Regions from separate parts of the Homo sapiens genome. Here all the other regions are linked to region 4. Evidence: promoter capture Hi-C in human tissues and cell types (Jung and others, 2019). All regions are on one chromosome and are shown on one strand. The core of a region is centred on a gene start or on the middle of the fragment in contact, and the rest is flanking DNA. Distances in the headings are between cores, read along the strand shown.

The links. Contacts are between HindIII fragments. The study calls those that stand out against the background at their distance.
Region 1: a contact is called between a fragment that was not itself captured here and the fragment with the promoter of FURIN in region 4, in 1 of the 25 tissues and cell types used here (spleen).
Region 2: a contact is called between a fragment that was not itself captured here and the fragment with the promoter of FURIN in region 4, in 1 of the 25 tissues and cell types used here (mesenchymal stem cells).
Region 3: a fragment that was not itself captured here is called in contact with the fragment with the promoter of FURIN in region 4 in 2 of the 25 tissues and cell types used here (dorsolateral prefrontal cortex and lymphoblastoid cells).

What each region holds. Positions count from the first base shown.
Region 1 is chr15:90,335,917-90,338,616 of GRCh38, reverse strand. No RefSeq gene overlaps it. Among named protein-coding and RNA genes, the nearest start is that of ZNF774, 15 kb to the left of the region's middle. The HindIII fragment of the contact is 7,838 bases long and covers 1-2,700 here.
Region 2 is chr15:90,310,699-90,313,398 of GRCh38, reverse strand. No RefSeq gene overlaps it. Among named protein-coding and RNA genes, the nearest start is that of ZNF774, 40 kb to the left of the region's middle. The HindIII fragment of the contact is 8,060 bases long and covers 1-2,700 here.
Region 3 is chr15:90,293,643-90,296,522 of GRCh38, reverse strand. It overlaps the pseudogene GOLGA2P8 and the pseudogene RN7SL736P. Among named protein-coding and RNA genes, the nearest start is that of NGRN, 29 kb to the right of the region's middle. RefSeq lists enhancers at 2,306-2,806, 2,807-2,880. The HindIII fragment of the contact is 7,947 bases long and covers 1-2,880 here.
Region 4 is chr15:90,867,302-90,870,062 of GRCh38, reverse strand. FURIN (furin, paired basic amino acid cleaving enzyme) reads right to left here and starts at 1,475. Exons shown (of 16, transcript NM_002569.4): 1 at 1,352-1,475. RefSeq lists enhancers at 10-304, 242-351, 90-384, 452-501, 1-943. The HindIII fragment of the contact is 14,305 bases long and covers 1-2,761 here.

The sequences.
Region 1 (2,700 bases), core at 118-2,617, 530 kb after region 4:
TTCACAGCCTGGGCTTGACATTAGCAAACATTTCAACACCAATATCTATAAGCAACAAATAGTCATATTAATGGTAATTGTAATGAATGCTTGTTATAGACAACGGGAATGCAACATCCCTGGCTTATGAATTTGCCAATTGCTCTTCCTCATTGTGGGTCTTTCTCATAGAAGATGGGCAGTGCCTCTTTTGTGAGAACATTTCTGGGCCAAGGATATCAAGAGACACGTTGGTACACATCAGCCTAAATACATTACCTTATTTCATCTAGAAGGCCACTTATGTACCACCAAGAAAGGGAACAAAACTGCCGATTAAACTCTGACATTCTGTCAATTGTGAGATAAATCCTGATTTCAATGATGTTAAAAGGTAATAAAATGGCTGGGCATGGTGGCTCATGCCTGTAATCCCAGCACTTTGGGAGGCCGAGATGGGCGGATCACCTGAGTTCAGGAGTTCGAAACCAGCCTGGCTAACATGGTGAAACCCTGCCTCTACTAAAAATACAAAAATTAGCCGGGCATAGTGACGGGCATCTGTAATCCCAGCTATTCAGGAGGCTGAGGGGGGAGAATCCCTTGAACCAGGGAGGCGGAGGTTGCAGTGAGACGAGATCACATGACTGTACTCCAGGCTCAGTGACAGAGCGAGACGCCAACTCAAAAAAAAGGTAATAAAATGTACATCTCAGAATGAGTGCAGTGTGCAAAGTGCCAGTGTTCCCACCTGTACTAGACTGGTTTTTTTTTGTTGTTTTCTGTTTTATTTATTTATTTATTTATTTTGAGACAGGGTCTTGCCCTGTCATCCAGGCTGAAGTGCAAAGGCATGATTATGGCTCACTGCAGCCTCAATGTTTGGGGCTCAAATGATCCTCCCACCTCAGCCCCTAGAGTGGCTGGGGCTACAGATATGCACCACCACACCCAGCTAATTTTTAAAATTTTTTTTTATAAAGACAGGGGTCTCTCTATGTTGCCCAGACTGGTCTCGAACTCCTGGGCTCAAGTGATCCTCCTGCCTCGGCTTCTCAAAGTGCTGGGATTATGGGCATGAGCCATCAAACCTGGCCCTGTACCAGATTCATTTTACATGCCGTTACAAATCCTGCACTTGCCTTGCTTTCTGGCCAGAACTCTAACAATGACTTGCTCTGTGGTAGCTACTCCAGGTTCCTCATGTCACGTAAGGGCATGACACCACAGCACCTGGCCTTGCACCAGCATCTCTGCTCCTATCCTCCTGCCATGTGGGTTTCCTGTTGCTATTGATATGAGAGACCCTGTGGACCATCTCAAATCCCATGGATGCACAGTGGCTTACCCTCCAGGTTGATGCTTGGCCATAGAGGCTGACACTTCTGTCTTGGGTTCTGGCTTTCTCCATGGCTGCTGGAGGAGTTGGGCGGCTCAACTCATAAGCTAAAAGGAGTTGACACCCTGAGGGGCAAACTTCGACCAATAGGAGATGGCAGCCTATAGATAAACGTATTCCCTTCCTTACCCCCTCCCCACCTGGGCCTCTTCCTGTGACTGCACAGAGTGTGGAGAGATGCAGTGGCTTACTCTGGCTTCTCAGAGACTCGCTTCCCCTATGCGAGCTCAGTTGCTTCTTCTAAGAGTGAGGAAGCAATTGTGCTTGCCTAAGTTGTGGTCAGGACCATCATGCATGCTCTTATGTTGACTCGTCCTCGTTGTTTGACTTGTTCCCCTTTTCCCTTCACTCATGCCTCCCTGGGATTCTATACTCTCATAAAGCTTTGCCTCAGGCTCTCTTTTCTAAGGAACCCAGGCTAAGACACCAACTCAACTGACACATTTTGTGGGAATGTGGTCATGTGCCAATGTAAATAGGGAAAAGAGAAGGGGTATGAAAAGAGAGGAGAGGTAGAAGCAGCATTCTGGAATTTTCCAAGATGTCAGTATCAGGACTTAATAATTTTTTACTCACAAAAGGCAGTTGATATAGAAGATCTCTTTATGCTCAGATATAACAGCTACTATTTGCCTTTAGAAGGAAGTAGATCCAACATCTGACTTCTTAGAGATTAATTATAATAATTACAATGAATGGTGATAATAGCTCCTTTGACCTAGCATTTCCACTTCTAAGAATTTATCCTAGAGATACTTCTGAATGTACACAAAGTTGTGTATACAAGATAATATTACATTGTTTGTCATAATGTTTGTAGTAACAAAAGAGTGGAACAGCCAGGCATGGTGGCACACATCTGTAGCCCCAGCTATTCAGAAGGCTGTGATGGAAGAGTCCCTTGAGCCCAGGAGTTCAAGGCTATGGTACACTATGATGTCACCTGTGAATAGCCACTGCACTCCAGCTTGAGTAACATAGTGAGGCCCCCATCTCTAAAAATAATAATAATAATAATAATAAATAGAAACAACCCAAATGTCAATCAGTAGGAGACAGTCTAAATGAATTATGATTCCAAGGCCATGAAACAGTATGTAGCCATTAAAAATAATGAGGTTGGCTGGGTGCGGTGGCTCACGCCTGTAATCCCAGCACTTTGGGAGGCCAAGGTGGGTAGATCGCCTGAGGTCAGGAGTTCGAGACCAGCCTGGCCAACGTGATGAAACCCAGTTTCTACTAAAATTACAAAAAATTAGCTGGGTGTGGTGTTGGGTGCCTGTAATCCCAGCTATTCAGGAGGCCAAGGCAGGAGAATCACT
Region 2 (2,700 bases), core at 70-2,569, 560 kb after region 4:
ACTTTGGGAGGCTGAGGTGGGCAGATCACCTGAGCTCAGGAGTTCGAGACCAGCCTGACCAACATGGAGAAACTCCGTCTCTACTAAAAATACAAAATTAGCTGGGCGTGGTGGCGCATGCCTGTAGTCCCAGCTACTTGGGAGGCTGAGGCAGGAGAATCGCTTGAACCCGGGAGGCAGAGGTTGCGGTGAGCCGAGATCACACCATTGCACTCCAGCCTGGGCAACAAGAGCGAAACTCCGTCTAAAAAAAAAAAAAGTAGAAAAACATCAAATAAACAACGTAACAGTGCATCTTAAAGAAATAGAAAAGCAAGAGCAATCCAAACCCAAAATTAGTAGAAGAAAAGAATAAAGATCCCAGAGCAGAAATAAGTGAAATTGAAATGAAGAAAACAATAAAAAAATCAATGAAATGAGAAGTTGGTTTTTTGAAAAGATAAACAACCTTGACAACCTTTTAGCCTAAATAAGACTAAGAAAAAAAGAGAGAAGACCCAAATATATAAAATCAGAGATGAAAAAGGAAACATGACAATTGATACCACAAAAATTCAAAGGATCATCAGTCAATATTATAAGGAATTACATGCAAAAAATTGGAAAACTTAGAAAAAAATGGATAAATTCCTAAACACGTCCAGCCTACCAAGATTGAATAACGATGAAATGCAAAACCTGAACAGACCAACAACAAATAATGAGATCAAAGCTGTAATAAAAAGTCTCCCAGCAAAGAAAAGCCTGGGACGTGATGGTTTCACTGCTGACTTTTACCAAACATTTAAAGAGAACTAATACCAACCTTACCCAAACTACTCCAAAAATAGTGGTGGAGGGAATACTTCCAACTCATTCTACAAGGCTAGTATTACCCTGATACCAAAACGAAAGATACATCCAAAAAATAAAACTACAGGCTAATATCACTGATGAATATTGATGCAAAAATTCTCAACAAAATATTAGCAAATTGAATTCAACAACACATTAAAAAGATCATTCATCATGACCAAGTGGGATTTATCCCAGGGATGCAAGGATAATTCAATATACCCAAATCAATCAATGTGATACATCATATCAACAGAATGAAGAACAAAAACTACATGATAATTTCAATGAATGCTGAAAAAGCATTTGATAAAATTCAACATCCCTTCAGGATGAAAGCCCCTTAAAAACTGAAGGCACATACATCAACATAATAAAAGCCATATACAACACACCCACAGCTAGTTTCATACTGAATGGGGGAAAACCAAGAGCCTCTTCTCTAAGATCAAGAACATAACAAAGATGCCCACTTTCACCACTGTTAATCAACATTGTTCAGGAAATTCTAGCTAGACCAATCAGACAAGGGAAATAAATAAAGGGCATCCAAACTGGAAGGGAAGAAGTCAAATTATTCTTATTTGCAGATGGTATAATCGTATTTTGGAAAACTCTAAAGACTACACACACACACACACACACACACACACACACACACACACAAAACTATTAGAACTGATAAATCAATTCAGTAAAGTTGCAGGATACAAAATCAACATACAAAAACCAATGGCATTTCTGTATGTCAACAGCAAACAGTCTGAAAAAGAAATCAAGAAAGCAATTCCATTTACAATAGCTACAAATAAAATAAAATACTTAGAAATTAACCAAAGAAGCCAAAGTTCTCCACAATGAAAACTATACACTGATACAAGAAATTAAAGAGGACACAAATGAAAAGATATTCCGTGTTCATGGATTGGAAGAATCAATATTGTTCAAACATCCATACTACCCAAAGCAATCTACAGACTCAATGCAATCTGTATCAAAATATCGATGACATTCCTCACAGAAATAGAAAAAAAAATCCTAAAATGTATATGGAACTACAAAAGACCCGCCATAGCCAAAACTGTCCTAAACAAAAAGAACAAAACTAGAGTAATCACATTCCCTGACTTCAAATTATACCAGAGAGCTAAGTAGCCAAAGTGACATGGTTACTGGCATAAAAACAGACACATAGACCAATGGAACAGAATAGAGAACCCAGAAATAAATCCATACATCTACAGTGAACTCATTTTTGACAAAGGCGCCAAGAATACACATTGTGGAAAGGACAGTCTCTTCAATAAATGGTGGTGGGAAAATTGGATAACCATATACAGAAGAATGAAACCAAACCCTTCTCTCTCACCACATACAAACATCAAATCAAAATGGATTATACACTTAATTATAAGACCCCAATCTATGAAACTACTGAACAAAAACATTAGGGAAACTCTCCAGGACATTGGAGTGGGCAAAGATCTCTTGAGCAATACCCTACAAGCGCAGGCAACCAAAGCAAAAATGGACAAATGGGATCACATCAAATTAAAAAGCTTCTGTGCAGCAAAGGAGACAATCAATAAACTAAAGAGACACCCTGTAGAATGGGAGAAAATATTTGTAAACTACCTATCTGACAAGGAATTAATAACAGAATATATAAGAAGCTCAAACAATTTAATAGCAAAGATCTAATAATCTAACTGAAAAATGGGCAAAAGATCTGAATAGAGACTTCTCAAAAGAAGACATACAAATGGCAAACAGATACATGAGAAGGGGCTCGACATCATTGATTATCATAGAAATGCAAATCAAAACTACAATGAGACATCATCTCACTTCAGTTAAAATAGCCTT
Region 3 (2,880 bases), core at 201-2,700, 570 kb after region 4:
TCATGATGCAATATCTTCATAAGCCCAGAACACATACAAATCCTAAGGGAACTACCATAGTACAGTGCTCATTCTTGGCACCAAAACAAATAAAACACACTCTATCCTGCACATACCTGCCAGAGCAGGCCACTTTCCTCTTCTGGGAGATTTAAAAAGCTCCCCAAAATGTTATTACTCCCATCCCCAATACACAGAAAAAGGGGGAAAGGCTGTTTCCAGTGCTCCGCCTTTAAGCAACTGTAAATGTCAGTACTCACAGTGGCATATTACAAAGTAATAGACCGCGCACTTCAGGGCAAACCACATATTGAGCTGATGAAGAGCTCACTGTGATTAGGATTCGATCAAACATAATAGCAGAACATAAGCAAATTTTATCTGAATTCCATAATAAATATACATGCTGCAATAACATTAAAAAAGCATGGCAGCCTATCCCAAACCAGGAAGAATAGTTTTGTGCAAATAGTGGGTCTTTGTGTGTTTGAACACCCACCACATAAGGGCAAACTTGATATGCATGCTAATGACCTACAATTATCAAATTAAAAAAGAAACATGCTAAAGGATGCCAGAGTGAACATGAGGAAAAGACCCACTCTCCTTTAACTTTTTACAAATAAAATTTAAACTATAAATTAGAAACACAAATAAACATGAGTGGCTCTAACATTCAAATGAAGTAAATGAATTGTGTAGGAGATTAACCCCTTAACTTTTTTTTTTTTTTAATTTCTTGACCAGCTCTTAGATGATGGTGGTGTTTATCTCCCTGTTCTCGGCAGCTCGAAAAGAAAGGCATGCAGAGATTGCTGCCCAAGCCTGGGTGCTCCTGGGGAGTCCTGCGTTACAGGAAGCAGCTGCATGATCTGCTGTGCAGTGGGGTTGTCGTGGGGAGAACCCTCCCTGGCCTCTCCTGGTGCGGGCTCCACGCTGTCAGTGAGGCTCACCTCACAAAGATCTTCGGAGAGAGGGAGGAGGGGATCGGAGCGCCATGCGAGCCTCCCCTGCTCCTGCCTGCTCACCCTGCCTGAAGGTTCTACTGGCCATCCTGCTTGTCAGCACACACAAGCTCTTGGGGGGCTGGGGCTCCTAGAGTGGGCTCATCAGCAGGGTTCTGGGCAGTGGCCAGGAACTTGCCATGTCCCTCATTGTGGTCTCTCACAAGCCGCAACACCTGCCCCTGCATCTCCAGCAGGTTCACCTGGAGGGAGGGGTGCTCAGCTGCCATACTGGTGCCGGCACCCACGTTCACCCCCACCCCCGCCCCCACAGAGATGTTGCACACCCTACCTTCATCTCCTCCCGGTCCTGGGCCAGCCTGACGATCTCCTCCTCCTCCCGGTGCCGCATCTTTGGCACTGTCCCCTGGCTCCCATATGGGGTGATGTACTTTCCTGCGGGAGGACATGGCTCAGATGCTGGAGCCCCTCCGACGGCCCTGCAGCTCCCCCTGCCGTGCCCTGGCCTCCCGCTCACTCATGGTGTCTGTCTTTCCCGAGAGGTGGATGAATTGAAGCTTTAGTTTCTCCACCCACTCCCTCAGGTCCACCTTCTCCTTCAGGAGGTCCATAAAGTCGCTCTGGAGCCAAAATAATGGGATCACGTCTCAGGAGCCACCTGCCTTGCCCCACCCCCACCCTTCTTGGCCTATGCCAGGACCTACTCATCTACAACTTCTCCTTGGCCCCCTGCAGGGCCCGGTGGGTCCCCCCACACACAGACTCACCCCCAGTCCCTGGGGCTGGGGCTGCTGCTTCTGGCTTCTTCTGGGACGAGGCCACTGGGTGAGCCAGGGGCTGGCAGCACATCCTTTGCTCCTCCTGGGCACTGGTTCCAGCGGAGTTGAAAAATGCCACCTGAAGGCAAGAGGTGAGTGTTCTTGTAGGGGCATACACAGAACAACTGGGGCAGGGAGGTGGAGCGCAGCCCCTTCCCTTGGGGCCTCAGAGAGTGCACCTGTTGGTCACAGGTGAAATGGTGTCTGATCACTGGCTCCCGGAAGGAGTGAAAGTCCACAGAAATCAGAAAGCGGGGAAACCAAGAACATAAGGGGGTCTGGGAGGGACCACAGAGGAAGGTGGCAAAGTGGGGGCAGGGCAAGTCAGGCTCACCACCGTCTCCCGGCTCTCCAGGTCCCCTGGGATGTTCGGCATGGGCTGAGGCGCCTCCTCCTCCATCTCCTGTGGGGGGGTGGCCAGAGGGGTCCTCAGACAACCCAACAAGGGAGGTACTGTGGGCTCACCTCTGCCCCCACACTCACTGTGTAACCTTGAGCCAGCCCCTCCCCAGAGGGGAATGAGCTGTTCTTTATTTTTACTTTTAAGAACCAAGATCTTGCTATATTGCCCAGGCACAGTCCCACTACCGATTGGTGCAGGAATTCTGACCTGCTCCATTTCTGACCTGGGCCAGTTCTCCCATCCTTAGGCAACCTGGTGGTCCCCCGCTCCCAGGAGGTCACCATATTGATGCCAAACTTAGTGCAGACACCCAGTCAGCATAATGGCCAGCTGTCTTAAAGGTCTCTTCCATCTCCTCAATCCTACAGTGCTAACAGTCCCCCTTTCCTCCTGGGGCTCTCTCCTCTTCCTCTGAGTGGTGTCCCGTACCTTCCCCAGGGAGAGCCATGAGGCTCAACTGGGCCTGTAGTTGCTGGTTCTGCTGGCTGGTAGCTTCCAGGTGCTCCTGAGATGCCAGGAAAGAGGGTGAGAAGGCACAGAGGTTGCCAGGTTGTCCCTCTTGGGGCCCCGTCCTCAGCAACTCCCTCCCCTGGGTCTCCTGCAACTTTTGGCGGGCCATCTTAGCCACTGCTTTGCCCTGAGCTTCCTGCTGCTGCAGCTGGTCCAATGAGCCGGGTCTGCAGCAGTAACTGCC
Region 4 (2,761 bases), core at 226-2,725:
GTTGAGCGGGAAGATAAGTCCAGTTGGCCTTGTCCCAAAGTGGGGACTTCCCCTCCGCCAAGGAACTAAGACTTGTAGGGGCCACACTGGGTAGCGCCAGCCACAGTTGGGAGAACAATACTCCAGCAGTCAGACTGAGGCAGGAAGTGACTCACGCTTCTTCCTTAGGCTGTGAGCAAGAGAACTCCATTGAGGGGAAACAGGGACAGGGCTGGCCCCACCTACCCACTTGTCCTCAGGCCTAGAAGAAAGGTCAGCCCAGAAAAATAGCAATACTTGCTGCTTCAGGTGCCCCACCCATCCTGGAGACTGGCCCCAGGGGAGCCCGCAGTGGGTCTTTGGAGGGGGAGGGGCTAGCCTAGGCTCAGATGACTGCCACCCAGGCAGAGGCGGTGGGAAGTGGAGCTTCCCAGTTTCTTCCAGCCAGCTTGCCTCTTCAATCTGCATAAGGCAAAATTCTTTAAAGTGGGTTCTCAGAGGTGCCTCCCTGAGAGGGAGGAATGAGGACAGGATTGGGCAGTTGAGCACCTCTCTCTGCTTCACCCAGAGTGTCTCACATTTTAGGGTTTCACATGAGATTGTATTTTACAACAATTCTGCTGCTAAAAAGAATTTGAAAGCCACTCTCTGTGAGACTTCTCTGGAAAAAAATCCCATTTGACCACAACTGGTGACTTCTGCCTTTATCTCATTGCAACAAGTCCTGTGGGCAGGTATTGTTCTCTTTATCACTCTCAACTGGCCCTGGAGCCCAGGTCTCCTGACCTGGGGCCCTAGGGGCCCAAGGTCCTCTGGATCCCACCTTACCAGTTTTACACAGCAGTTAGCAGGACTTGGGCATGTGACAGAAGTCTGGAGATGAGTGAGAGGAGCAGGGCCTGATGGGTAAGTGGGGGCTGTAAAGGGGCTCCATTTTCCCAGCAGGGCTCTGGGAGGAAGAGTCCAGCTAGGCCTCTCTTTATCCTTGATTTGGGGCTAATCCAGAGAGGCTCCTGAGAATCACATAGTCCTAAATCCACCCAGTCATCCTGACTCCAAGCACTCCTGTTGTCTCCTTGGGGTGCTCTGGGAGTCTTCTCTGAAATCTCTGGTCCACCTCAGGCACAGCAAATAAAGCCTTCGGCAGCAGCACCCACACCTAGTTGTAAGCAGAATGTCTACACAACATTCAGACGTGCATAGAAGGGTGCACAACAAAATTCCATTGGTGTTCTCTCCGAATGAAAGGGTCACATTTGCGATCTTTGTTTTCTTCTTTTTGCCTACCTGCATTTTTCAGGAATGTCTACAAGAACTCCTAAAATAATTAAACCTTTAAGTCAATGCAAAATCGAATAAAGCATGTCCATACTTCACCATCCAGCTCCAGAGCACCTGGGATTCATCCTGGCCGCTGCTGCTTCCCCGCCACTCACTGCAGCTGCAACAGTCAGGCTCCTATCCCTTCACAGGGCGGGGCCCTTCCAGTTCTGGCTAAACCACTTTGGGAAAACCTTCTTTATATGACAGGCAAACAGGGTGTCTGTGGGTGGGGGGAGGAGCTAAAAGTGATGTGGTGGTGACATATCTGGTCGCACTGGAACTGGATCCTAACATGGCCAGCCAGCCCTTCTCATTTTCCTCATTTATTGGGGTGGGTCTGCACTTACCTTCTGCCTGGCTTTGCTGCATCCCAGCCACTGGCTGACTTAATGACTTCCTTCCGCCAGCTCCAGCTCCTTGTGTTCTGCCTTGCCTTCCATGGCCAGCCAGTGCTGCCACAATTATGTACCTAATAAATGCTTTGGGTGCAGTCTCGCCTGGCAGACATTCATTGAGCAGCTGCTGAACGCTGGGCTCTGGTGCCCCATAGCTGGGTCCCTTAGAGCTTGTCCATAGGAAGCCAGAGACCACCTCTCTAGTAGGGTTGCATGGAGGTACCTGGGACACACCAGGGTCTTCCTCAGTCTGCGACCTCCCTGGCCTTCCAGCTTCAACAAGCCTGCTGCCCATCCTTCTCTCTCTCGATTCAGAAATGTGAATCACTCAATCCTCATAGTTTTTTTTGTTTGTTTGTTTTATGGGTTTGTTTTTTTTTTTTCTAGACAAGAGTCTCGCTCTGTTGCCCAGGCTGGAATGCAATGGCCTGATCACAGCTCACTGCAACCTCTGCCTTCTGGGTTCAGGCGATTCTCATGCTTCAGCCTCCCAAGTAGCTGGGATTACAGGCTTACGCCACTCGTATTTTTTTTTTTTTTTTTTGTATTTTTAGTAGAGATGGGGTTTTGCCATGTTGGCCAGGCTGGTCTCGCACTCCTGACCTTAAGTGATACACCCACCTCGGCCTCCCTAAGTGCTGGGATTATTAGGCGTGAGCCACCACGCCCGGTCCCCTTGTTGAGTTTTCAATCAGTTTGTCATCCTGAACAGGGTTTCTCAACCTTGGCATTATCAACATCTTGGGTCGGATAATTCTCTGTAGGGGACACTGCACTCTACATTGCAGGATGTTCAGTCGCATCCCTAGTCACTAAACATTAGCTGCTAGTAGCATTCCCGCTCCCATGATGACAACCAAAAAGATCTCCAGGTATTGCCAAATGTCCCTTGGGAGACAAAAATCTCTCCCAGCAAAGAACCACTGTCGCAGAATGAGGAGTGGGAACGTCACAGGATGGTGGTTAGTGTGCCAGGGTTCGAGGCAGCAAGAGTTGTCTGCTGGGAACTAAGCTCTGAGACAGCTAGCAGTGAGGGAGAAAACTCCCAAACTTGAAACTGCCCA